Linked DNA regions of Homo sapiens: region 1 is linked to region 2. The links are contacts of gene promoters, found by promoter capture Hi-C in human tissues and cell types (Jung and others, 2019). All regions are on one chromosome and are shown on one strand. The core of a region is centred on a gene start or on the middle of the fragment in contact, and the rest is flanking DNA. Distances in the headings are between cores, read along the strand shown.

Evidence for each region. The method cuts DNA at HindIII sites, captures the fragments that hold promoters and counts their contacts. A contact is called where the count stands out against the background at its distance.
Region 1: the fragment with the promoter of HYLS1 here is called in contact with the fragment with the promoter of VSIG2 in region 2 in 1 of the 25 tissues and cell types used here (small bowel).

The regions. Positions count from the first base shown.
Region 1 is chr11:125,884,773-125,889,761 of GRCh38, forward strand. It overlaps HYLS1 (HYLS1 centriolar and ciliogenesis associated), which reads left to right and starts at 2,896. Exons shown (of 3, transcript NM_001134793.2): 1 at 2,896-2,993. RefSeq lists an enhancer at 2,604-2,653 and silencers at 2,794-2,843, 2,934-2,983, 3,084-3,473. The HindIII fragment of the contact is 15,201 bases long and covers 1-4,989 here.
Region 2 is chr11:124,749,365-124,754,166 of GRCh38, forward strand. VSIG2 (V-set and immunoglobulin domain containing 2) reads right to left here and starts at 2,891. Exons shown (of 7, transcript NM_014312.5): 1 at 2,713-2,891; 2 at 2,059-2,216; 3 at 1,350-1,557; 4 at 344-502. The coding sequence starts at 2,773. It overlaps ESAM (endothelial cell adhesion molecule), which reads right to left. Exons shown (of 7, transcript NM_138961.3): 7 at 3,762-4,597. The coding sequence ends at 4,282. RefSeq lists an enhancer at 2,089-2,650. The HindIII fragment of the contact is 14,367 bases long and covers 1-4,802 here.

The DNA of each region.
Region 1 (4,989 bases), core at 1,646-4,145, 1.1 Mb after region 2:
AAGTTAATCATTGCTGAATCTGGTATTGAGTTCACTGGGCTTCATTATGTATGGTTTTTTAACATTTGTTTGAAATTTTCCATAACAAATTTTTAAGATGAGATTTGGTTTGCAGAGTAGGATTTTTCTCTATATACTGTATTTTAAGTGGTCATGGTTAAAGTTTCTTGTTTAAGGTTTGACCGGGGTTCAGTAGATTTCTGGGAACCACAAGCATTATTAAATCAGATCTAAGAAAAATTGGAGGACTAAGCAATCCACAAAAAAACCAGGGTTGGGTAGAACACAAGATACCACTTGCAATATGAAATATTCAGGAGTAGATCCTTCAAGCTGCTATGTATTAAACGTTTTCAAAGATCAAAATTTAATAAAAAGGATAACAGAAACTAATTGGGGCTGCACACAGTGGCTCACGCTGGAAATCCCAGCACTTTGGGAGGTGGAGGCTGGCGGATCGCTTGAGGTCAGAGTTCAAGACTAGCCTGGCCAATATGATGAAACCCTGTCTCTACTAAAAATACAAAAATTAGCTGGGTGTGGTGGCACACGCCTGTAGTCCCAGCTACTCAGGAGACTGAGGCATGAAAATCATTTGAACCTGGGAGGTGGAGGTTGCAGTGAGCCAAGATCGTGCCACTGCACCCCAGCCTGGGCTACAGAGAGAGACTCTGTCTCAAAAAAAATTAAAAAAAAAAGAAAAAGAAACGAACTGGGGGATCCATAAGGAGAATGCTGATGTTCAAAGCTGGAAGAAAAATGATTCCATCTACTCTTTGGTTTCTAAGACAGATTGGAGATTCAAAGCCAAAGAAAAAGTCATGCTGGCATAAGATAAAACCTGAGCATATTAAATTTGCTCCTATGGAAAGAAAAGAATATATGCACTAAAACAAAGGTCCCCAACCCCCAGGCCACGGACAGGCACCTAGGAACCAGGCCGCAAGGCAGGGGGTAAGCCGTAGGAGCTTCATCTGTTTCTACAGCCACTCCCCATCTGGCATTACTGCCTGAGCTCTGCCTTCCGTCGCATGAACAGGGGTGTTAGAGTCTCACAAGAGCGTGAACCCTATTGTGAACTGCGCAAGCCAGGGATCTAGGTTGCATGCTCCTTATGAGAATCTAATGCCTGATGATCTGTCACTGTCTCCCATCACCCCCAGATGGGACCATCTAGTTGCAGAAAAACAAGCTCAGGGCTCCCACTGATTCTACATTACAGTGAGTTGCATAATTATTTCATTATATGTTACAATATAATAATAGAAATAAAGTGCACAATAAATGTAATGCGCTTGAATCATCCCAAAACCATACCCCCTCTCTGAGCCATGGAAAAATTGTCTTCCATGAAACCTGTCTCTAGTGCCAAAAAGGTTGGGACCGCTGCACTAAAGGAGTGTTATGATATTGCAGATGTAGGGGCAGTCACTCAAATCTCCACAACCTACTTCTGTCATCTTCCCTCCTTTGTTCTTTCCATTTTCTTCCTCCCACAAATTCAAAGTGCCTTAGAGGTAGCACAAAGGCCCTGAGGCAAAGAGGGAGAGTAAGAGATAATACGAAGTGTTTGGAGGAAAAGGATTAAACATTTCTCCCCTCCCACTGAATCCTGGATTTAAGAAATGGTGTAAGATGAACTTGACAACTAGCACCTATTTGTTTAAGGTGGAAAATGCAATGCTCAGGACTCAAGACCAGTTGAGATAGGTTTGCTTGGTATTGACTAGGATATTGAACCCTGAGGGCCTCTCCTCTTGCTTTTACAGATCTCATCCTCAGCAATCCCCAAGCACTAGATTTTTTTTTTTTTTTTTTTTTTTTTTTTTACAGGTACAGATGCAAAAAGAGTTAAAACATCGGGTTTAAAAAAAAAATTAGTGGCTGGGCACAGAGGCTCACAACTGTAATCCCAGAGCTTTGGGAGGCCGAGGGGGTAGAATCACCTGACTAACATGGTGAAACCCCATCTCTACTAAAAATACAAAATTAGCCGGGCATGGTGGTGCTCGCCCGTAATCCCAGCTGCTCGGGAGGCTGAGGCAGGAGAATCGCTTGAACCTGGGAGGCAGAGGTTACAGAGAGCTGAGATCGCGCCACTACTCTCCAGCCTGGGCAACTGGGCAACAAGAGGGAAACTCCGTCTCAAAAAAAAAAAAAAAAAAAAGTTGAGAGTAACACCATGTGAAGGAGACAGGCACATTCCAAAAGAAAACAAGTGCATGTCGGAGCAAGGCAGTCGGTGGCTGGAGCACAGTTAGAGTAACGTGGGAGGAGCTGTGGAGACGCAGCCACGGGTCACGCCAGGGCCCTGCACACCATGCAGAGGAAAGGAAGAGCTCAGTGCGCCAGGGTTTCATACAGCCGCTCTCTCAGGCCCCAAGGAAACGTCTAGAGCGCACAGGCGGACTCACCCCAGACTGTTCGAACCGTCCCTGAGCGCCCGCCCTCGTCTCCCGGCACCACTGGCCCCGCAGCAGCCAGTTGAGAAGGGCGGAGGCTGATTCCAATGAAGTGGCAGACCGTTAGGCGGCCTCTCCAAAAAGCCAGCTATGTCGCCGTTAGCCAAGGTTTGAGGGTCTTCTCCTTCTCTTCGAGGGCCCAACCTCCCCTCCAGATTTAGTACACCAGAGGCGTCGCAGCAACGGCTGCTGCCTGCGCGCCTCAGCTAGGCGGGCTCGGATATTTTTAAGGCCACATTGGAAATCCCGGGCATGCTCCCGCCGGCGGAGAAGGCCCAGACAAAATGTGCGCCAATCAGGATACAGACTTGGAGGACGTTTACCCTCAGGACCAATAAGAGGGAGGGCGGACCGGGCCAAGGGTGCCGGTTCGCTCTCCGGATTTAAACCTCAGCGGTCGGCGGTTAACCGCAGGCTCGGCGCGTGGGCCGGCAGTGCGCCTGCGCAAGTTACGCGAAAGCTAACAGAATCTGCGGTGCTCTGCTGGCGACTGGCAGGACGCGGTGCAGAGAGCGGACTTCCGCGACGCGGGTAAGCCGGGCGAAGGCCGGAAGCGGAGGGACGCGGGGACCTGGTGGCTGCCGGCCCACTGCGGCGGGAGCCCTCGCTCCTTTTCCCACCGTCGGGACGGTGCAGAGTGGCAGCTTCCCTCCGTGGATTCCAGGTCCTGCCTGGCGAGCCGTCCCCAACGTCTGCGTTCCTGAGGGAGGCGGCCGGGGCAGCGTGAGCTACAGGCGATGTGCGCGGCGGGCCGCAGCCCCTGGAGGTCACGGTGTGCGCTGGCCGCCGCCGCGGTCTTTGCCCCGGTGGCCTTTCTGAGCTCCTGGGCCGCGCCCCTGGGACCAGGCGGAGGCCGGGGACGGCCCCAGGGCTGGAGGGGAGTCCCGAAGGCCGCTAGCGACCTGGGTCCAAGCCACGCCCACGGCCAGGCGGGGCGACTGCGAGCTTTGCCGTTGAAAGGCGGAGCGTGTCTTGTCGCCTTCTAGCTGCACCTTTTGTGGACTGCAGCATGGAACCGTCCAAGGTGTTTGTCCACCCCGAAATGGAAATAAATCTTTTTTATTCTAAACAGTATACAATCTCACTAAGCAGGCAAAGAAAAACATTAAGATATCTTTTTAGATTGGTAAGATTTTTCAGTACCCCATGCTGCTGAGAGAGTGAAGAAATGAAAGCAAGCACCTTTATGGCCTGTGTGCTGGGGATAATCTGTTTTTCTAGAGGGCAGTTTGGCATTATAAATCAGAATTCAGGCCGGGCGCGGTGGCTCACGCCTGTTACCCCAGCACTTTGGGAGGCCGAGGTGGGCGGATCACGTGAGGTCAGGAGTTCGAGACCAGCCCGACCAATACGGTGAAACCCCGTCTCTACTAAAAATACAAAAATTGGCCGGGCTTGGTGGCGGGCGCCTGTAGTCCCAGCTCCTCGGGAGGCCGAGACAGGAGAATCTCTTGAACCCGGGAGGGAGAGGTTGCAGTGAGCCGAGATCGCGCCACTGCACTCCAGCCTGGGCGACCGAGCAAGACTCTTGTCTCAAAAAAAAAAAAAAAAAAGAGAAAAGAAAAACATAAATCAGAATTCAAGTAGTACCATAACTTCTAAGTCATAATCCAATTCCAGGAGTTTATTCCAAGGACATAAATCGGACAAGAATGCAAACATAGTATGTACATGTTTTTAGCAATCCGAGCAACATTTAGTACGTGTAAAGAAGAAAGAAAATACTCGAAATTTCATCAGTCACAGATAACCATCAAACACTGTTCACATTTAGGTTTACTTCAGATATATTCATAATATATACCTTATATTTATGTGATTTCCTTATAAAATGTGTTTTAAATAATTGCATGTTACAAATATAATAAAGTATGTTAATTTAAAAGAACGTCAGTTAAGCAGATTATACATTATTGAGTCAGTAATAAATTGGGAACACATTTCTCTGTCAGTGTCGATACGCATTACCATTTTTAATGGATGCGTGGCGTTTGTTGCTATGGCTGTATTGTATCATATATTATTTAACCAGTCCCCTACTAATGTACATTTGTTTCCAGTCTCTTCATAATCATAAAATGGTATGGTAGTGGTCACTTGTATGTATACATGTTTGCATTCTTGTCCAATTTATGTCCTTGGAATAAATTCCTGGAAGTGGATTATGACTTAGAAGTTGTGGTACAGTTTAAATTCTGATTCAAAATGCCAAACTGGGCCGGGCGCGGTGGCTCACACCTGTAATCCCAAGCACTTTGGGAGGCGGAGGCGGGCGGATCACTTGAGATTGGGAGTTTGAAACCAGCCTGGCCAACATGGTGAAACCAAGTCTCTACTAAAAATAGAAGAAAAATTAGCCGGGCGTGGTGGCAGGTGCCTGTGATCCCAGCTACTCGGGAGGCTGAGGCAGGAGAATCGCTTGAACCTGAGAGGCAGAGGTTGCGGTGAGCCGAGATCAGGCCACCGCAACTCCAGCCTGGGCGACAGAGAGAGACTCGTCTCAAAAAACAACAACAATAATAATAAT
Region 2 (4,802 bases), core at 1,641-4,140:
CTCTCTAGGAAGTTTGGAAGTGGTCCACGACCCTTAGGAAACCTAAAAGAAATCTCCCCAAGGCAGATGGGTGGTCATCATCAGATTGCTCCCTGCCCTCTACTCTCTTCCAGGATATCAGCAGTATATTCAGCTTGAGAAATACCCCCAGGATCATGCAGCCACAGACTGCAGAAAGACAGGCAGGAGGGAACAATACAGGAAGCCAAGGAAGAGACAGGGAAAGGTATAGTGGTTTGTGTCATACCCCTAGTCATGGAACGGATAATACGGGTGTGTGGGATTTAGAGACCAGATTTGCCCAGGTCTCCAGTACCCTCTTCCTGATGCCCTGGGCCCTTACCTTGAACCATGCTGCCAGGAGAAGGTGTAGGAAAAGTTCCAAGACGCACCCAGTTGTACACTGGCTTAGGAGCCCCCTCGGAAGAGCTGCATCTCAGTGCAGTAGAGCCTCCCACAGAGGTTTGTCCACTCTGACTGCATAAGGGATTACTGGGGGGAACTGCAAAAAAAAAAAAAAAAAAAAAAAAACAGAAAGTTCCTCAGCAATCTTCCAGCCCCACTCCCAACTCCATTAGGTGCTACATTCTCTACTTCAATACCCCTATCAAACAGTGGTCCTCTTGGGTCCACACACCACTGCATCCCCAGGAACTGAGGGATTTCCACTATTGGAAATTCTGATTGTTAGAGAAAATTCTTCTTCATGTTGAGCCAAAATGTGTGTTAACATAACCTCCACCCATTGGTTTCAGTTCCTGCCCTTTGGGCCCACAAAGAGAAATTAAAATCTCTCCTCCACATGACAGCCCTTTGGATAGTTGAATCCAGCAGTAATACACCCATCCGAGGCCTTCTCTTTTCCATCTAAACACTGCCAGTCTCTGTGATAGTTTTTCTGGTTGCTCATCTCTGAAAAGGCTCTAGTTTGGGGTGAGACAGAAGCTCTGAGCACGAAGTTGGTGCTCAGTAATAGGGGCCCTTGTTCCTTTGGTGGCCACTCCCCTTCTCTGCCATTGACCTTGGGAGGGACAGAATCCAACTACCGATGAGAGCCTCCCCCATGATGGAGCTGCTGGGAGCAGGCTCAGATCCCCATGTATGGGAAGGACTTTCTCTCACACACTCTGTTATTAGGCTCTGATGGAGGAGATGCTCTCGGTGGAGGGTGGAGTTGGAGTATGACCATCTGAATTAGAAGACTTGGAAAGGGAGTATTTTCACTTGGGGCCCCCAGTGCAGTTGTGTGCTTGGGCTAAAAGTCAGAAACCAGAGATTTAGCAAGACCAGTGCAAACGCCCCAAGTATGTGAAAGAGTATGTGGCTCGTGGATCCCCAGTCTGCCTTACCCAGCACAGTAAGGTTGATTAGCCCCAACCCATTGGTGTAGAAATCTGGTGGGTTGTTGACTTGGCAGAGGTAGGTTCCAGTATCTGAGGGGTGGACGTCAGTCAGTTTCAGTGTGGCCACCCCCACTGTGGGGGGGTTCTGAAGCAGGCTGACCCGCTTTGACTTAGAACCAGTTGGATACAGATGGCCATTGGTGAAGTACAGGATCTGGGGAGAGGCAGAAGACACACATATGTGCCTGTTTCTGCCTGGCATCAACTCTACAGTCCTTCCTCATCAAAGTGGGTATAAGAGGCCTCTGACTTACATCAGCCAGGGAGGCTGATACCCTTAAGCTGGAACTCCAAAGGTCTCTCTGTCCCCAAACACCACCCCCTTTCAGGTGCTAAATGAACCTGATCCATTGGTCTCTCTCTCTCTCTCTCAAAGAGAGAGGCAGAAGAGGCAGCATATTATCTTGGTATCAGTCACAACACCTTAGTGTCAATGGATACACTAAGGCAGGGGAGTTGGAAATAGGAGCTATGGAAGAGGAAAGGAAGATACACGGTCAGGCAGACTGCAGCTCTGAAAAGATCTAGGGAGAGCCCACTTACCTTTTCATCCAAGCATACTGATCCCCAAACTCCCCCTCCCGACCCCATGCCCTCATCCTGGGCTCCTGTCCCTCCAGGCCAACCCAGCTTCATGCAGTCGCTCTCAGCTCACTGGATGGGACTCAGAGATGGGTTTCCCAGGCTGCACAAAGCTCCACTCCAGGGCGAAGCTGTCTCCCACCGACGTGCTGTAGGTGCAGGTCAGCTCGGCTGTCTTCCCCAGGGGCGTGCTCAGCGGCTCTGTGGGTACCTTCACCTCCACGGCCAGCCCTGGGGCCGGGGACCAGAGGGAGGTGGGAACCCAAATTCCAGTGATCTGGAGGGTCGGGCCCACCCCCGGGCATCTATATTGGAAGCTGGGGGCTCCCTCCCCAGAGCACAACCCTCTCCCCTCAATCCAACCCCTCCCTTCCCAAAACCTGAGGTTTCCGGGAGGGGCCGGGTCTTTGTGGGTAAAAGAGCCGGAACCGGGCCAGGTAAGAGGGTGTGTGTGTTTAGCAGAGAAAGGAAAACACTAGCCCTGCGGTGGGGTGGTTCAGGCCTGTGCCGCGGAGAGGCCCAACTCGCTCGCCGGCTTGGGGGTCTCTCTCCTACGCCCTCCGGGCCTTGGACACCCCCTCTCCGGCCTCACCTCAGGCGCCTTAGGGCCCCTGGCGCCCACGGCAGCCTCATCTGGCCTGGCGGGGACAGAGTGGGTCCGAGGAGCCGGGGAAGCCAGGCCTATGCCCCCCAGCCCTCGCCGTGGTCCCGCCCGGCCCCTCCTCACCACTCAGGCACAGGAAGCCTAGCAGGGCCCCGCAGAGAAAGGGCCCCGGGAGCTCGGCCATGGCCGCGTCCGGCCGTCCTGTCCTGCTCCTGCCAGGTGGGCGGTCAAGGTCGGTCTGGGTGTCGGGCAGGGAAGGGAGCACCCAAGGGCAGCCGCCCGGGCTGGGCAGGAGCGAGACTGGTATCTCAGAGCAAACAGGGGAGAGGCCGGCGCCGCAGGTTAAAAAAAAAAAAAAGTGCTCCTCCCTCCTCTCCTCCAGCCCCGATTCTGCAATCCCTCTGTCCCTTCTTCCTCCTTCCTTCCTCTTCTCCCCAAGGTCTGAAGCTGTCCGGCCTTGGGAAAAGCGCTGGGCTTGGGGTGGGCCTTCTGCAGAGACGGAAGGAAAGCTGACTTTGGAAGGCGTCCTGATACCCCAGAGCTGGCAAGGGGAGTCCCCACCTCGGAGCCTCACTGTGAGTGTGAGCCCCAGGCCGCAGACCCTTCCTGTCCACAGCGCTTTTCATTTCACCACTTACTGAGGTAGGAGTCTCTGTAGAAATGAGCATCTCTCCATTTCCAGAGCCACTCCATTTTAGGGGCAGAGAAACTGAGACCTAAAGGAGACCTCACCCTTGGTAGGAAAGAACATGGCAGAACTTGGACACAGACCTGCACCTCATACTATGCCCAGCTCTCCCTCAGTAACAACAGAGATCTCTTCCAGATGGGCAAGGAGTGTTTTGTTAAGGATTCCGTGGTGTGGGAGAGGAGCCCACGTGAGCTTCCTCTCCCCTGTCCCTGAAGAGGAAGCAGATGAGGTACACGTACCCCCTAGCCGGGAGCACTCAAGCTCCAGCAGAAAGCGTATCAACTCCATCCCTCTGCTGTTCAGAGTAGCTTAGAGTCTCCTCCCCTTCTCCACGTGACAAACAAGGACCCTTCTAAACACTAGAAGAGCTGCTCTAAGCCTGTGGGGGGAAGCCCTCCTGGGTACACAGCTTGGGAAGGGGTCCACTTTGCATCCTCCTGAAGCTCAATTTCAAGAATTCTTAGTTTGAAAAGGCAACTTGTTTCTTATCTCATACAAACATTATGTATCTTTATTTAAATTTGCAAATGAAAACAACACATATTTCATGTTAGTTTTAATAAGAGATTCCCTATCCTCTGCCCCAGTAAAACCTAACCAAGCCAGCCTGACAGGTTATATCAATACAGGGAGCTGGAGTGGGAGCCAAGGGTGGTGTTAGATAGGGGTGGGGTACAGATCAAGGGGGCCTGGGAGACTCAGTGACTGGAAGTCTCTGCCCCTCACTCTTGGTGAGTAGCTAATTTCAGCAGCTGGCTTCATAAGGAGGAGTCAGGGGTGGGTGGAGGCTCCTCCCAATTCCAGATCCACTTCCTCTTCTCCTTCTGTCTCCTGGACACTTAGGTCTTACTGAGATGGTTTTCCCACAGTAAAGAGAGGTGGGGGCAGAGTACTAAGGGTCAGGAGTGTGACTCTTTCCCATGACTCAGGCCTCTGTGCTAGAGGTGACCCTTATAGGAAGGAGAGACCCCAAATCCTTTAGCCAATGAGTGGTGGGGTCATCATACCAGAGAGCCAGCTTGACTCTGGGCAGGCACCATCACAGGCACAGCACCCATGCGGCTCAAGCCAGAGGAAGAAACCCCACCAGGGATGGGGGATATTGGTTGAGGGTGGGCCCCATCTGTCGTGGGCAGTCTTGGTGAGGGCAGGGCCTGGCTGGAGAGACTGGGCGTGGGGGTCAATGCACCAGGCCTGGGAGGGCCATGGGGTGGCCGGAGGGCTCGTGCGGAGGTGACAGAGGAAAGGGTCCCATTCTTGGAGATTGTGTCTGAGCTCTTGGGCCAGGGCAGGGTCCGGGGAGCAATGGCATCCTCCCTAGTCATCAAAGAAATAACAAGAGGTCAGAAGTGGGTGGGGGAAGGAGGAGAGAGTTTCTACCTGCTTGGTCTTATATACCACCTCTGCCTGCACACTTCAGTACTCCTTTCCCTCTCCCTTAAAACCTGCCCATAGGAATGATGTTTCAGCCACTGACCCCATCCCAATAGATGAGAGCTGCCTGAATTCCCAGCCTCTGTGA